Regions from separate parts of the Homo sapiens genome. Here regions 1 and 2 are each linked to region 3. Evidence: promoter capture Hi-C in 16 types of primary human blood cells and fetal thymus (Javierre and others, 2016). All regions are on one chromosome and are shown on one strand. Each heading gives the region's core, a stretch centred on a gene start or on the middle of the fragment in contact. The rest is flanking DNA. Distances are from core to core; before and after follow the strand shown.

The links. The method cuts DNA at HindIII sites, captures the fragments that hold promoters and counts their contacts. A CHiCAGO score of 5 or more calls a contact.
Region 1: a fragment that was not itself captured here is called in contact with the fragment with the promoter of SNAPC1 in region 3 in 1 of 17 cell types (neutrophils); the score reaches 6.6 in neutrophils.
Region 2: a contact is called between the fragment with the promoter of SIX4 here and the fragment with the promoter of SNAPC1 in region 3, in 1 of 17 cell types (naive CD8 T cells). The highest score is 6.6, in naive CD8 T cells.

The regions. Positions count from the first base shown.
Region 1 is chr14:63,536,978-63,541,773 of GRCh38, reverse strand. PPP2R5E (protein phosphatase 2 regulatory subunit B'epsilon) reads left to right here. Exons shown (of 14, transcript NM_006246.5): 2 at 2,082-2,245. The coding sequence starts at 2,089. Among named protein-coding and RNA genes, the nearest start is that of PPP2R5E, 4.0 kb to the left of the region's middle. The HindIII fragment of the contact is 3,873 bases long and covers 281-4,153 here.
Region 2 is chr14:60,720,773-60,725,713 of GRCh38, reverse strand. It overlaps SIX4 (SIX homeobox 4), which reads left to right and starts at 1,363. Exons shown (of 3, transcript NM_017420.5): 1 at 1,363-2,502. The coding sequence starts at 1,640. RefSeq lists silencers at 1,881-1,950, 3,229-3,298. The HindIII fragment of the contact is 4,809 bases long and covers 657-4,941 here.
Region 3 is chr14:61,759,812-61,764,398 of GRCh38, reverse strand. SNAPC1 (small nuclear RNA activating complex polypeptide 1) reads right to left here and starts at 1,979. Exons shown (of 10, transcript NM_003082.4): 1 at 1,811-1,979. The coding sequence starts at 1,938. RefSeq lists enhancers at 1,009-1,752, 1,753-2,496, 2,564-2,653, 2,497-3,240, 3,241-3,985. The HindIII fragment of the contact is 7,963 bases long and covers 1-4,587 here.

The DNA.
Region 1 (4,796 bases), core at 968-3,467, 1.8 Mb before region 3:
GTGCATGTGTTTTAAAATGTTTTTGTTATTTTTACATTGTCAAAATCCACGTAATCCAGGTAACTTTTTATTCTCACGTGTTCAGGAAGAAATTCCCTTACTGTTTTATTTAGAAGTTAAAAACCACTTGTCTTGTCTATTGGAATGACAGGTGAGTAATTGCATTTCAGCATTTCCCCCATATGCATTCTTTCTATCCGAGTCTGCCATTAGTCTTGCATGAAGCCTCAGTGCCATGGAAATGATGGCATCTGTTTAATTTGGTGAATGAAATTAAGCTTAACGCTTGTTACTTTCAGGAAATAGCCTTCATTTTAATAACTCGAGAGGGTTAAACAATTCAAAAGTGCTATTCAGTTCCGTAAGTTTGATGGAATGAAAATTGGTATTTGATGATGAACTTCAAGGTCTAAACCTCAAGGGAACTCAACTTGGTTGTTTCAGTAGGCTGTGAATTTATGTTTTCAGTTCAACTTTGGTGCTTGATTTTCTCATAGTTTTTATTAAGCGTTAATAACGTAAGGTGGCTTCATTCAAAAAGAAGACTTATTTGAAATATTTTAATTATGCCTTTTATGTGTTTTGTTTAAAGTAATCTAGCCTGTCCTCATTTGCAGTGTGGTATAGTTTATCATAGCTAACATAGCACATCCCATTAAAAGTTATGCCTAGATAGTTTCAGTAGTAGTAAATTTCACCTTGCTGTGATACATTGGTATAGATTCTTGAAGTACACTAAGGGTTTTTCAACTCCAGAACCCATTCATAATATTAAGTATCTTGGGAAAATGTATCAATGGAAGTTTTCCAGTTACAGAATAGCTCCAAAAATTACTTGAAGATGTGAAGAGCTTTGCAGTTAGAAAATGGGCAGGCAGCATAGATTTCTTTAAGCCTAGATGAGTATCTTTAATGCTTATAATGGAGTGGCACAATACATTAGAGTTCTCATATTGTTTCCGTGATACTTAAATTATTTTCACTAAATTTTCATGTTTTCCTGTTAACATATGACTTTTCTTTTCTTTGTTTGTTTCTTTTTTTTTTTTTTGAGAAGGAGTTTTCCTCTTGCTGCCCAGGCTGGAGTGCAATGGCATGATCTTGGCTCACCACAACTCCGCCTCCCGGGTTCAAGTGATTCTCCTGCCTCAGCCTCCCGAGTAGCTGGGATTACAGGCATGCGCCACCATGCCTGGCTAATTTTTGTATTTTTTTTTTTTTATTAGAGATGGGGTTTCTCCATGTTGGTCAGGCTGGTCTCGAACTCCCAACCTGAAGTTATCTGCCCGCCTTGGGATTACGGGTGTGTGCCACTGTGCCTGGCTTTTTTTTTTTTTTTTTTTGAGATGGACTCTTGCTCTGTTGCCCAGGCTGGAGTGCAGTGGTGCCATCTTGGCTCACCGCAACCTCCGCCTCCCAGGTTCAAGCGGTTCTCCCTTCTCAGCCTCTTGAGTAGCTGAGATTACAGGTGCATGCCACTGCGCCTGGCTAATTTTTGTATTTTTAGTAGACACAGGGTTTCACCATGTTGGCCAGGCTAGTCTCGAACTCCTGACCTCAAGTGATCCACCCACCTCGGCCTCCCAAAGTGCTGGGATTACAGGTGTGAGCCACCGGGCCCAGCCCTTTTTTTTTTTTTTTTTAAAGGACGGAATCTCACTCTGTCACTCAGGCTGGATGGAGTGCAATGGCGGGATCCTGGCCCACTGCAACCTCCACCTCCCAGGTTCAAGCGATTCTTTCACCTCAGCCTCCCGGGTAGCTGAGATTACAAGCACCTGCCATCATGCCCGGCTAATTTTTGTAATTTTGTAGAGACTGAATTTCACCATGTTGTCCAGGTTGGTCTTGAACTCCTGACCTCAAGTGATCCACCCATCTCAGCCTCCCAAAGTGCTGGGATTACAGGCGTGAGCCATTGCACCTGGCCAAGATAAGACTTTTCTTAACTGATTTTATTTTCTTTAGCACATATTCCCATTTTCATGAATATTGTATATGGGAATTTTAGAATTTGTATAACTCACATGTATGCTTCCACCTTGGGAATGTATGGGTTTATGATACTTCTTTCTCTTCAGTAGGGATATGTCCTCAGCACCAACTACTCCTCCATCAGTGGATAAAGTAGACGGATTTTCTCGGAAGTCCGTCAGAAAAGCCAGACAGAAGAGGTCGCAAAGTTCCTCACAGTTTAGGTCTCAAGGCAAGCCTATTGAGTTAACACCTCTGCCGCTGCTAAAAGGTAAGGCTCATGACCAGGTGATGCATTCTTTTTCAATTGATCTTTCTACATCTATATATAATTTCCTTTTTGTAGAGTTTTATATGTGTTGCAAATTGAAGGGATGGGATACTTCACATACATTGAAGTTACTAATGTGTGACCAAATATACCCACTCTCCTTTTTAAAGGCTCAATTTAGTCTGTCTTTGGGCAAGTTAAAAGAAACATTATCAGGAGAATATCTCACATTGATGAGTAGGTAAACTAAGTACTAGAGAAACTTTAAGATGTCTGGGTTTGTGTTTTTCATTTTTTCTTCTGTTGACGTTTAGGGATACATTATATACAATGACAACTACAGATTATGGTCTTAGGAAGTAGACCCTAGTAGAGGAGATGGTACCATTCATTAATTTACATATAGAAAATGGTATTTGGAAGAATTCGTTTTTAAAAATCAAGAAAAAAATGGTCCATTTATAGTTGTTTACATGCACTCTTGTTTTCACATAGTACAAGTAGAAAAGATATACCTTTCTATGTACAAGTATGATGATCATACTTGTTTAGTATGATCTTTTCTTTGAAATTTGTTAATTTTTTAATTTTAATTTTTATCTTTTGAGATAGAGTCTCCCTCTGTTGCTCAGGCTGGTTCACAGCAACCTCCACCTCCTGGGTTCAAGTGATTTTCCTGCCTCAGCTTCCCGAGTAGCTGGGAGCACAGGTGCCCGCCACCATGCCCAGCTAATTTTTGTATTTTTAATAGAGACAGGGTTTCACCATGTTGGTCAGGCTGGTCTTGAACTCCTGACCCCAAGTGATCTGCCCACCTTGACCTCCCAAAGTGCTGGGATTACAGGTGTGAGCCACCGTGCCTGGCCTGAAATTTGTTAAAAACAAGTTTTTTGGTTTTTTAAATTTTCTTTTGAGACAATCTCATGCTGTCACTCTGGCTAGAGTTCAGTGGGGACAGAGTGAAAGTGCAGGTTGAGGCCGGGCGTGGTGGCTCACGCCTGTAATCCCAGCACTTTGGGAGCCCGAGGCAGGCAGATCACGAGGTCAGGAGTTTGAGACCAGCCTGGCCAACATGGTGAAACCCTGTCTCTTCTAAAAATACAAAAATTAGGCGCGGTGGTGGCACCTGTAATCCCAGCTACTCGGGAAGCCGAGGCAGGAGAATTGCTTGAACCGGGAGGCAGAGGTTGAAGTGAGCCCAGATCGTGCCATTGCATTCTAGCCTGGGTGACAGAGCAAGACTCTGTCTCGGGGGAAAAAAAAAAAAGAAAGTGCAGGTTGGGGCTCACTGTGGCCTCTATTTCCTAGGCTCAAGTGATCCTCCCTTTCCCGAGTAGCCGGGATCAACTTCCCGAGTAGCTGGGACTACAGAAGCATGCCATCACGCCCAGCTAATTTTTCCATTTTTTTGTAGAGATGGAGTTTTGCCATGTTGCACAGGCTGGTCTCGAATTGCCATGGTGTTCCCATGCCAGGATTTAGGCGTGAGCCACCATGCCCGGCCCAACACGTTTTTAATATGAAGAATTTTTTCTAAATTAGGCATTTCAACTTTTGTTTGGGTATGTGGTTACTTTTTGTCCCTTTTAATTTTCATCATGTTTGCTTCATGTTTATGAACAGGTGTTGTTTGAAAAATATCAGAACATAGCTTTTATAGTGTGGAAACTATCAGAATTTACCTTTGAGGTGGATGTTTATGTGCTGAATACTGAAGAATGGGAGAAAGGGGATATGAACAACACAATGAGCTTTAGTGTGGCTTGGAGGAAACCAGGCAACCTGGTTTGCTAGTTCATTATTGCAGACTTATTTCTGTAACAGTTTGTGAAATCAGAAGGTATTATAAGAAAAACTGGAATGTAACCGGAAAAGATCCTCAAAATTTAGCTTAGGATATTTCAAGCTTCTATTTTTTCCATATGAATACTTTTTTTAAAAAAGAGAGAGAGATTCATAAATAAGATTCCAATGTTTATACAAAATTTTTGGAAACTGAATACTGATTACTGTAAAGATGATATATCTACCAGTCAGTAAAGATGAGCTCCTGTGAGCTTTGGGGGAGAAAATTTTGACTAGAGATTTTGCTGGTAAAAATGAAAATAGTCATTATGAGGCTTTGGAAAGAAAATGTAGGAAACACTGTAGATTGAACTATGCTTGAAATACAAAGTTGGGAGACACTGGTTTTTAGTAATCTATTTAATCTGAAGTAGATATGTAATGGGTGTTAACTTCTGTATCTGTAAAGGACTTCATTCTGAGGAAGCCAGTTAAATTTTTTTTTTTAGAATTAGAAGGAATTTAAAAACTTACACTAATTTCTTGGATCTTATGGTAAACAATTAAATTAGGACTTCACTGACCACTCATAGTCAGGGTATTGGTTTTGTGGGTAGTGAAAGAAGCATGCATGAGAAGAATTTGGACACATGCTTTAATGTATTTTTTCTTTAATGCTTTCATGTCTTTTTTCTCATTTTAAAAAATTATGGTAAAATATACATAACATGAAATTTACCATCTTAACCATGTTTAAATGTGCATT
Region 2 (4,941 bases), core at 114-2,613, 1.0 Mb after region 3:
CAAGGCCACCCTGAAGCAAAGGTTAGGATGATGTCATTAAAATGTTGAATTTTGAGAGGCCGAGGCGGACGGATCACGAGGTCAGGAGATCGAGACCATCCTGGCTAACGTGGTGAAACCCCGTCTCTACTAAAAAATACAAAAAAAAAAAAAAAAAAAAAATTAGCTGGGCGTGGTGGCGGGCGCCTGTAGTCCCAGCTACTCGGGAGGCTGAGGCAGGAGAATGGCGTGAACCCAGGAGGCGGAGCTTGCAGTGAGCCGAGATCACACCACTGCACTCCAGCCTGGGCGACAGAGCGAGACTCCATCTCGGGGGGAAAAAAAGTTGAATTTTGAGAAAGAGCAGCAGCAGGCAAACCCAACTGACCTACAGTAATCAAAGAAGCAGAAATGGATCATCCCTTTTGGAATTAAGATCTTGTGCAAATTACAAAGGAAAGAGACACAACTGCAAACAACAAAAGACTCTACCCCCACTTCAGCATCAAACCAGAGGGCAATCTGTCTATGCTGTGGAAAAGGGCTTCTGATCCTGCACTGATCTGGATGACACCCGCACATTCAGTGTTTCTAGCCTATCATCGTTAAAAAAGAAATACTCATATACTTACATTAAAAAGTTCATGTAGAAAACTTAAATTTCCATATTTAAAGCTTAGATCTCTTCCACACGACTCATCCAGGATAAACTTATGGTTTAATATTCTACATGTTTAATTATACCATGTTCAACTCAGTTGGGTTGCCAGCCCTCCACGTGGCTTAAGGTTAAGTACATTTTTTGAAGGCTTCTTGTTTTTGTCTTCTCAGTGTGCTATTTATGCTGCTAATTATAAGGTTTTCAAGCATTTTTCCCTCTTTGGAATTTTAATTTACTGTAAATGCTTGCCCCTTAGAACATTTCCTAGTGTCATTTTATTTTTGACCGTTTTGAATACAAAATCCTTGATAAAGACATCCAAAAAGAGGGAGAATGGGGAACAGGGACATACTGGGGGGCTTCTGAATTGTCCTCTGAAGTTTTGTCATCTAGATGCTGAGGGTGGTCTCTTTGTTAAAAATTTAACCATCCAGACCTTAAGGCCACACAATTAATATTCCCTCTGGAATTGTAGGGCCTCTGTTTGAAAGAGTTGTCCAGTTTTCAGGCCACATTAGGTAATTTCCCGCCCAGGAGCGTGGCTTGGAAAGAATGTCGGTGTTTTCCTTCAGGTATAGGTGCCTGGGGGTCAGGAGGGGAGGGAAAGGCGAGGGGTGGAGTGGGAGGCGGGTGATCGACAGGGATAGAAACTGTGTCTCCTCCTCCCTCTGAATGCGAAATAGCCAATGAGGTGGCTAGGCCGGGCCGGCCCGGCCGCCACTGCCATATAGTATGCAGCAACCGGAGGAGTCACGTTGGGGGAACGGCAGAAAGCAGCTATCCGTTTACACTACTTTGCTCTAACAGCTATCTTAATGGTGACTGCGTGGCCGGGGGGAAACCTGATCGGCCAGATACAGCCGAAACCAGGAGGGAGGGAGTGGGCTTTCCGGAGGGGGAGAGGAGGGAGGGAGACGAAGGAGGAGGAGTAAGAGAGGAGGAAAGAAAGAGGAAAAGAGTGCGAGGGAGTGAGGGAGGGAGGAAAATAAACAACAAAAAATGTCCTCTTCCTCCCCCACCGGGCAGATCGCAAGTGCGGCGGACATCAAGCAAGAGAATGGGATGGAAAGCGCCTCGGAAGGGCAGGAGGCGCACCGAGAAGTGGCGGGGGGCGCGGCGGTAGGGCTGAGCCCCCCGGCTCCAGCCCCTTTTCCCCTGGAGCCGGGGGACGCCGCGACCGCTGCCGCCAGGGTGAGCGGAGAGGAAGGGGCAGTGGCGGCGGCGGCGGCCGGAGCGGCGGCGGATCAGGTACAACTCCACTCGGAACTTCTGGGCAGGCACCACCACGCCGCCGCCGCCGCCGCGCAGACCCCGCTGGCCTTCTCGCCCGACCACGTCGCCTGCGTGTGCGAGGCACTGCAGCAGGGGGGCAACCTGGACCGCCTGGCCCGGTTCCTGTGGTCCCTGCCCCAGAGCGACCTGCTACGTGGCAACGAGAGCCTGCTGAAGGCGCGGGCGCTCGTGGCCTTCCACCAGGGCATCTACCCCGAGCTCTACAGCATCCTCGAGAGCCACAGCTTCGAGTCGGCCAACCACCCGCTGCTGCAGCAGCTCTGGTACAAGGCGCGCTACACCGAGGCCGAGCGAGCCCGCGGCCGGCCGCTGGGAGCCGTAGACAAGTACCGGCTGCGCAGGAAATTCCCCCTGCCCCGCACCATCTGGGACGGCGAGGAGACGGTGTATTGTTTCAAGGAGAAGTCGCGCAACGCGCTCAAGGAGCTCTACAAGCAGAATCGCTACCCTTCGCCCGCCGAGAAGCGGCACCTGGCCAAGATCACCGGCCTCTCCCTCACCCAGGTCAGCAACTGGTTCAAGAACCGCCGGCAGCGCGACAGGAACCCCTCCGAGACCCAGTCCAAAAGGTGAGCGCCAACTTTCCTCCTCCTCCCCCTTCCTCTCCCCCACCCCCTTCCCGGCTTTCTTTTCCTCCAAGTGCTCGCAAACATGGCGCTTACCTTCCCCACCAGCCTGGTCCGGCTGCCCACCTCTCCCCGCCCCCTACCTCGCTCCCCGGCCGGCAGAGGTAGGGGGCGGCGGAGGCGGGGGGCGGGGGAACCTCCCTCCTTACCCTCCCCCTCTCCCCCCAGAAGTTTCTGGTCGCCCGCCTAGGTCTCAGTCCCCGCCCCCACCTCGGCTGGTCACTGCTGCCCAGCTTCCCACCCCCATCCCGCTGGCTTTGAAGTTGCCACCCTCTCCCCGTTTCTGGAGGGGCTAACGAAGCAAATGTGGACACCGGCACCGTAGCTCTCCCTGCCGCCCGAGGCCCGCAGAGACTGCCGGCGCCGGCCGGGGTCTGCACCTCCGCGAGGTCACACCGGGCCTGGCGCGCGCGCACGCTCCCGGATCCCCAGGGTTCAGCCGCCCCCCGGGCCTGCGCTGGAGGTCGCGGTGGCTGCTCTGGTGAAGGGAAGAGAGTGTTGTGGGACTGGCGGCGCAGAAGGGGTCTCGGAACGTCGAGGTTTCATATGACAGAGTTAATCATTCACCCTGCCCCTATGGTTCCCTTAGCGGCCGCGGCAACGTGGGGTGCTGGTGCAGCTCGGCTCTGTCATGTTTTGAAACCTGATTCTGAACTCCTTAGGATCGGGTTTCAGCGCAGCCGGGGTAGCAGGGCTGAAGGGCTGCTTCCTCCCTCGGCCCCCGAACGCTGCTTGGCTCCCTCCTGGTACGGTAGTTATGGGTGGGGGGCAGGCCGGCTTACGGCGGGCGGCAGCAAAGGAGTGGGGGCGCTCCCACCCCACTGGGTTTGAGCTTTTTGCCTGGCAGACTGCTTTCCCCCTCTGGTAAAAAAAATACCGGATTTTCCACCTCTTTTGTGCGTCCTCCCGAGTCAGACACTTGGTGTGTGCGTCTGTGTGTTTTGTTGGACGAAACAAAGTAAGGAGAAGGTCGCCTAAAGACCTGGTGTCTCCAGCCCCGCGGGGATAGGAGAGAAAGAATCCAAAAGCAGCTCGAAGGTTCTTCTCGGGGAAGCAAACTGGGAGCCGGGGATCCAGCCCGCCTGCGCCAGGTGAAGGTGATCACCAGCGCATTCCAGAGCCGGTCTCAGCCCGCCCTTGCCGCTTCTGGGCCCCTGTGGGGGTCCGACGGCTCGGGCTCCGGCGTTCCTCGCCCAAGGCTGGGAGGGAGGCTTGGTGCCCTATCCGGCCCTCGCGGTAACCAAAACAAAAGGTGCACCGGGATGTGCGTGCGCCTTCCGCAGATATGCGGAGAGGTCCAGAGAAGGCGCTTTGGTTACGCCGAGCCACCTGCCCTGCGCCCACTAGAGGCCGCGGATCCCGCGCTCGGAAACCAACGGAATCCGCAGGGCCGGGGCAGAGGGTGGCAAGGGGGCACCGCGAGCAGGCCAGCTGCTCCGCCGCCTCCGCTCGCGAGCCGGGCACGCTCCCTGGGACTCCCCCACGCTCCACTGCTGGCTTCTTCGTCCCCCCCGCCCCACCCCATAAACTCCACACCCACCCCGCCGCCGGCCCAGTTGCCTGGTTTAGGCCCCTCTCCGGATCTACCTCCCACCCGCACCCCCGGTGAGTCACCCTCGCAGACGGCGACGGCGGCTCAGCCTCAGCTTGTAAATCAAAGCGCTTTCTGCGCTCCTGGCCCCGCAGCCCAAAGCCCGGGTAATCCCCTCCCCTCGGCATGAAAGCGAACCGACCGCGGGGCACTGCGGGGATGTCGGATCCTCTGCTGGGCCAAGTCCTGCTGCGCTTCCAAAACGCCTCTGTTCTGCTCTCGTTTGCTCTCCCTCCCAGCCTCAGACCAAATGGGAAACCCCATCACTACCCACCCCCCAACCCCGATTTGGTATTTCTCCCAAGTCAGAGAGCTGAGGAACAGGGTCCTGCCTGGAACAGAGGGACCAAGGACGTTGGGGAAGAGGTCTAATAGTTAGAAGGCCTCTGAGTGACACCCTTTCCCTCCCACCTCACCAGGGCACTGGATGGTGTTTGTTAAATAGGCCCCTTTGGCTTCCTTTGGATTCAAAGGCGACTGCACATAACTGTTCTTGGGTTGAAAGTGCCTTTTCCTACAACAAGGACAGCCACTTTGTTGAATGAGAGAGTTGTCAGTCTGGTGGAGTAGAAGTTTGGGAGCAGGTGAGAAAACGATCTCTTGTTAACTAACTGACCAAAAAAGAAAAGCTGAGCACTTCCTACCTCCTGCTCCTTTGGCAGCTTCATTTACCTCCAAGATAACACTAATCTGAATTGGTTTGAGGGGAGGGGAAGGAGTTCCTAAACAGGAAAGACCGACCACCTCATTTAAGGTGTTTTTTTCTATGGTGTCAGTAGCAGCATATGTAA
Region 3 (4,587 bases), core at 730-3,229:
TCCATTCCTTGCAATTTAAAAAACTACAAAGGTAATTTGCTTACACTGACAGAGAGAAAATGAGTTTTTACATTTTGTTCAGAAAAAGTTTTAATCATAAGGTTTAACTCATTCAGAAAATCAGTTATTTCGCCTTTTTAATATTATATGTACTATGGTAATAAAAATAGATTCATCCAGTCACTGTCCTCACAGAGGTCAGTCTAGTCAAAGGAAAATTTTAAAACGGTAGTAATAATGAACATTTGACCAGCCTGGCCAACATGGTGAAATCCCGTCTCTACTAAAAATACAAAAATTAGCCAGGCTTGGTGGCACAAGCCGTAGTCCCAGCTACTCGGGAGGCTGAGGCAGGAGAATCTCTTGAACCCGGGAGGTGGAGGTTGCAGTGATAGGAGATCGCACCATTACACTCCAGCCTGGGTGACAGAGCAAGACTATGTCTCAAGAAAAAAAAATAATAATAATGAACATTTATTGAGCACTTAGAATGTATTTCTGATATATCAGCTCATTTAATCTTCACAACTACTATGAGGTTTATCATTGCCTCTATTTTACAGATATGGAAACTCAAGTAACTTGCCCCAAGTCATAGCGGACCCTGCAATCAAATGCAGCCAATTGGGTTCCATAACCTATGCCCTTAACAATCCCACACTGCCTTTTCAACTATACCATTACAACAAAATGTGGAAAGCGGTGACATAAAATAAAAACAGGGTGCTATGCGGGGAAAAAACATGAACAGCGTACTCAGTCTAGAAGAGCAAAAAAGACTTCCCCCGAGGATGTCATTTGAGCTTAACCCTGAGTGAAGAATAAGGTGGACAAAACAAGAGAGTTGCGGTGGAAACTCCAGGATTAGGAAAAGCCTGTAGAGGGCCCAAAGAAAAAAAAAAAAAAAAAAAAGCAGCTGCTGGAGCAAGAAAGTGAGTGCATGGAGGGGACTGGCAGGCGAAGCTGGAGAGATAGGCAAAGGCCAGTGAGGAATGGTCTTGGCAAGTCAGAGAATTCAAGCGTTATCCCAAAGGCAATGGGCACCACTACAGAGTAATAAGTCGGGGAGTGACATAATCAAATTTGCACTTTTGAAAAACAACTTTTGGGCCGGGCGCGGTGGCTCACTCCTGTAATCCTAGCGCTTTGGGAGGCCGAGGCGGGCGGGTCACGAGATCAGGAGTTCGAGGCCAGTCTGGCCAACATAGTAAAACCCCGTCTCTACTAAAAATACAAAAAATTAACCGGGCGTGGTGCCGGGCACCTGTAATCCCAGCTACTCCGGAGGTTGAGGCAAGAGAATCACTTGAACCTGAGAGGCGAAGGGTTGCACTGAGCCGCGAACGCGCCATTGCACTCCAGCCTGGGCGACAAAAGGAGACTCCGTCTCAAAAAAAAAAAAAAAAAAAAAAAAAAAGACAACTTTGGTTGTTGGAGGAAAAATTAATTCAATCTTGAAGGGTTTTGTCTTTGCTTGTGTGTTTTTAAACATCAGGTCCTAGAACAAGACTGGGGAAGGGCAAATGATAGTGGCCTGGCTCAGGGTGGAGATGGGAGAGAGGAGTTTAGAAGGGAGGCCAGGCAGAGACGCATATTTGGGAGGAGGCCGCAACAACCATCAGGGCACAATGAAATAGAGCAGGGAAAGCGCGTTGCCTGAGCACAGGGGAAGGTCCAGGAGTCATGGAGGCAACCTTCGGTGACTGCCGCTCTTCTCAGCCCTTCACAAGTGCAATATCGCCGGGAAGGAGGCAACTTTCTACACCACCTGCGGGCAGGGAGAGGCGGGTGGTGGACAAGAAACACCCACCAGAAGATAGTCCCGAACTTCATGTTTCTCCAGAGCTCCGTGAAGTCCTCGAAGCGTACACTGTCCGTCTCCTGGAAGCGGCTGAGCAGCGCCTCGCAGTCGGTCTGCAGGCCGGGAGGAGTCCCCATGGCACCCGAAGCCCGCACGCCTCCGAAGCCCGCACGCCTCTAACGGACTAGCCAGCGGTGGTCGCCCAGGAAACCAAGCCCGAACGGCCCGCCCCCTACGGCGTGCGCACACGCGCTCCGTGATGCATTATCCGGCACCTTTAGCTCCGCCTTTATCCGGGCTCTTGCCACCGGTCGTGTGCTTACTGCGCGTGCGTGAAAGCGTTCTGATGTTTTACTGGCTGAGATTGCTTTCACCCAGAGTGCTGAGATCCACCCTTCTTTGGAAGAGGTTTACGTCTAAAGTGTTGTGTTTGCTCACGAGCGGTTTTAGGTCTTCATTTTCCGCTAGGTTATGTAACTTGACTTTACCCTTACTAGCACTCTCCTTTAAACTGACCCTAGTGTGACATAAGTGAACTTTTGAGCTAGGAAAGAACAGTCCCAACCCCAACCCCACTCCCACTTGGGAAGAGAAGCTAAAGAAGGCTTGCTAGGAAACAAACTGCACTCATTCTCCTTCTGGTCATCGAGAACCCTAATACTCTGTACCCACATAATACGATGCTTAATGTGCGGCCCTCTCTTTGTAGCCCTGGCATTCTGCAACCACTCTTGAAAAGAAGAGCTGCATTTCATACCCTCTTGTAAACAGCCCTCCTCCTGCCCTGCCACGCATTCACCCCTGTGCTACATAGCACTTAGCAGAAAATACCTACTTGTTATATTCTTGTTATATTATTATTTGGATGAATTGCCTTTTTGTGTACACGCTGCCACCTAGCTTCCTTCCTCCAGGAGCTAGCTATGGAGTAACATTTTGAACTTTAGATCATTTCTCTGATTGAAAGGTAAGCTATCATTCTTTAGAAGAGGTATCCTGATATAATAGAAAAACATTGGGCTTTCTGTGTGTAAATGGAGTGTCAACTCACTTTACTTTTCTGATCCTTGACCTGTTTTTGTTTGTTTGTTTGTTTGTTTGGATTTGTTTGTTTTTTGTTTTGAGACGGAGTTTCGCTCTTGTTGCCCAGGCCGGAGTTCAGTGGCGCGGTCTCGGTTCACTGCAACTTCCGCCTCCCGAGTTCAAGCGATTCTCCTGCCTCAGCCTCCCGAGTAGCTGGGATTACAGGCATGCACCACTCCAACCGGATTTTGTTTTGTTTTGTTTTGTTTGTATTTTTAGTAGAGACAGGGTTTCACCATGTTGGCCAGGCTGGTCTCGAACTGCTAACCTCAGGTGATCCGCTCCCCTCGGCCTCCCAAAGTGTTGGGATTACAGACGTGAGCCACTGCACCCTGCCCTCTTGACCTGTTTTTTAAATGTTATGTAATATTTTATGTCACAGAAAAATTTATGCGATGTGTGAGATAAAAAGCATAGCAGTTAAACACCTGTACACCTTTCACCTGTGTAGGAACCAGAACATTACCAACGCCTTCACATCAATCTGCGATTTCCTCCTCTGACCTATTCCTTTGACTGTACCCTACTTTAATCACAGCTACTGGTTGGGCACGGTGGCTCACGCCTGAAATCCCAACACTTTGGGAGACAAAAGCAAGAGGATTGCTTAAGCACAAGAGTTGGAGACCAGCCTGGGAAACATGGTGAAAATTAGCCGGGCATGGTGGTGCACACCTGTAGTCCCAGCTACTCGGGAGGCTGAGGTGGGAGGATCATTTGAGCCTGGGAGATGGTGGTTACAGGAGACAGAGGTTGCAGTGGTGAGCCGAGATCGTGCCACTGCACTCCATCCTGGGCTACGGAGTGAGACCGAATCTCAAAAAATAAATAAATAACTACCTTGAATTTTGTTTCTCTTTCTCATGTATATATTTTATCACATATGTATGTATATTTAAACGGTATATTTTTTAGTTGTGGTTGGTTTTGAGTTTTATGAAAATGGTATTGCAACTGGCTGGGCGCAGTGGCTCACGCCTGTAATCCCAGCAATTTGGGAGGCTGAGGTGGGTGGATCACCAGGTCAAGAGTTCGAGACCAGCGTGACCAAAATAGTGAAACCCCGTCTCTAATAAAAACACAAAAATTAGCTAGGCGTAGTGGCGTGTGCCTGTAATCCCAGCTACTTGGGAGGCTGGGGCAGGAGAACCACTTGAACCTGGGAGGCAGAGGTTGCAGTGAGCCAAAATGCATTATTTCCCCCATGATAGAGTGGGGGAACCATTTGGGAAATGGTTCATTACAACAGATAATTTGAGAAGCACTGTTATACACCATTTCAGTCCACATTCCATTGGCCAGAACTCAGTCACATGGACCCATTCAGGTGCAAAGGTGGCTGAGAAACGTCATCACTAATTAGGCAACCTCTCCCCAACAATAGTTTCAATCGCTGGAAGAGGTGCACACGTCTTTGTTGGACCACGTATTAGCTCATTTCTGCTGCTATAACAAAATACCATAGAATAGGTAGCTTACAAACAACAGAAATTTATTTCTCACAGTTCTGGGAGGCTGGGAAATCTAAGATCAAGGTGCTGGCAGATTCCGTGCCTGGTGAGGGCTGCTCTCTGCTTTCAAGATGGCACCTTGTTGCCGTGTCCTCACATGGCATAATAGCGGAAGGACAAAAGAGGCCTAGCTAGTTCCCTCCAGCCCTTTTATAAAATCACTAATCCCATTCATGAGTCCTCATGACTTAA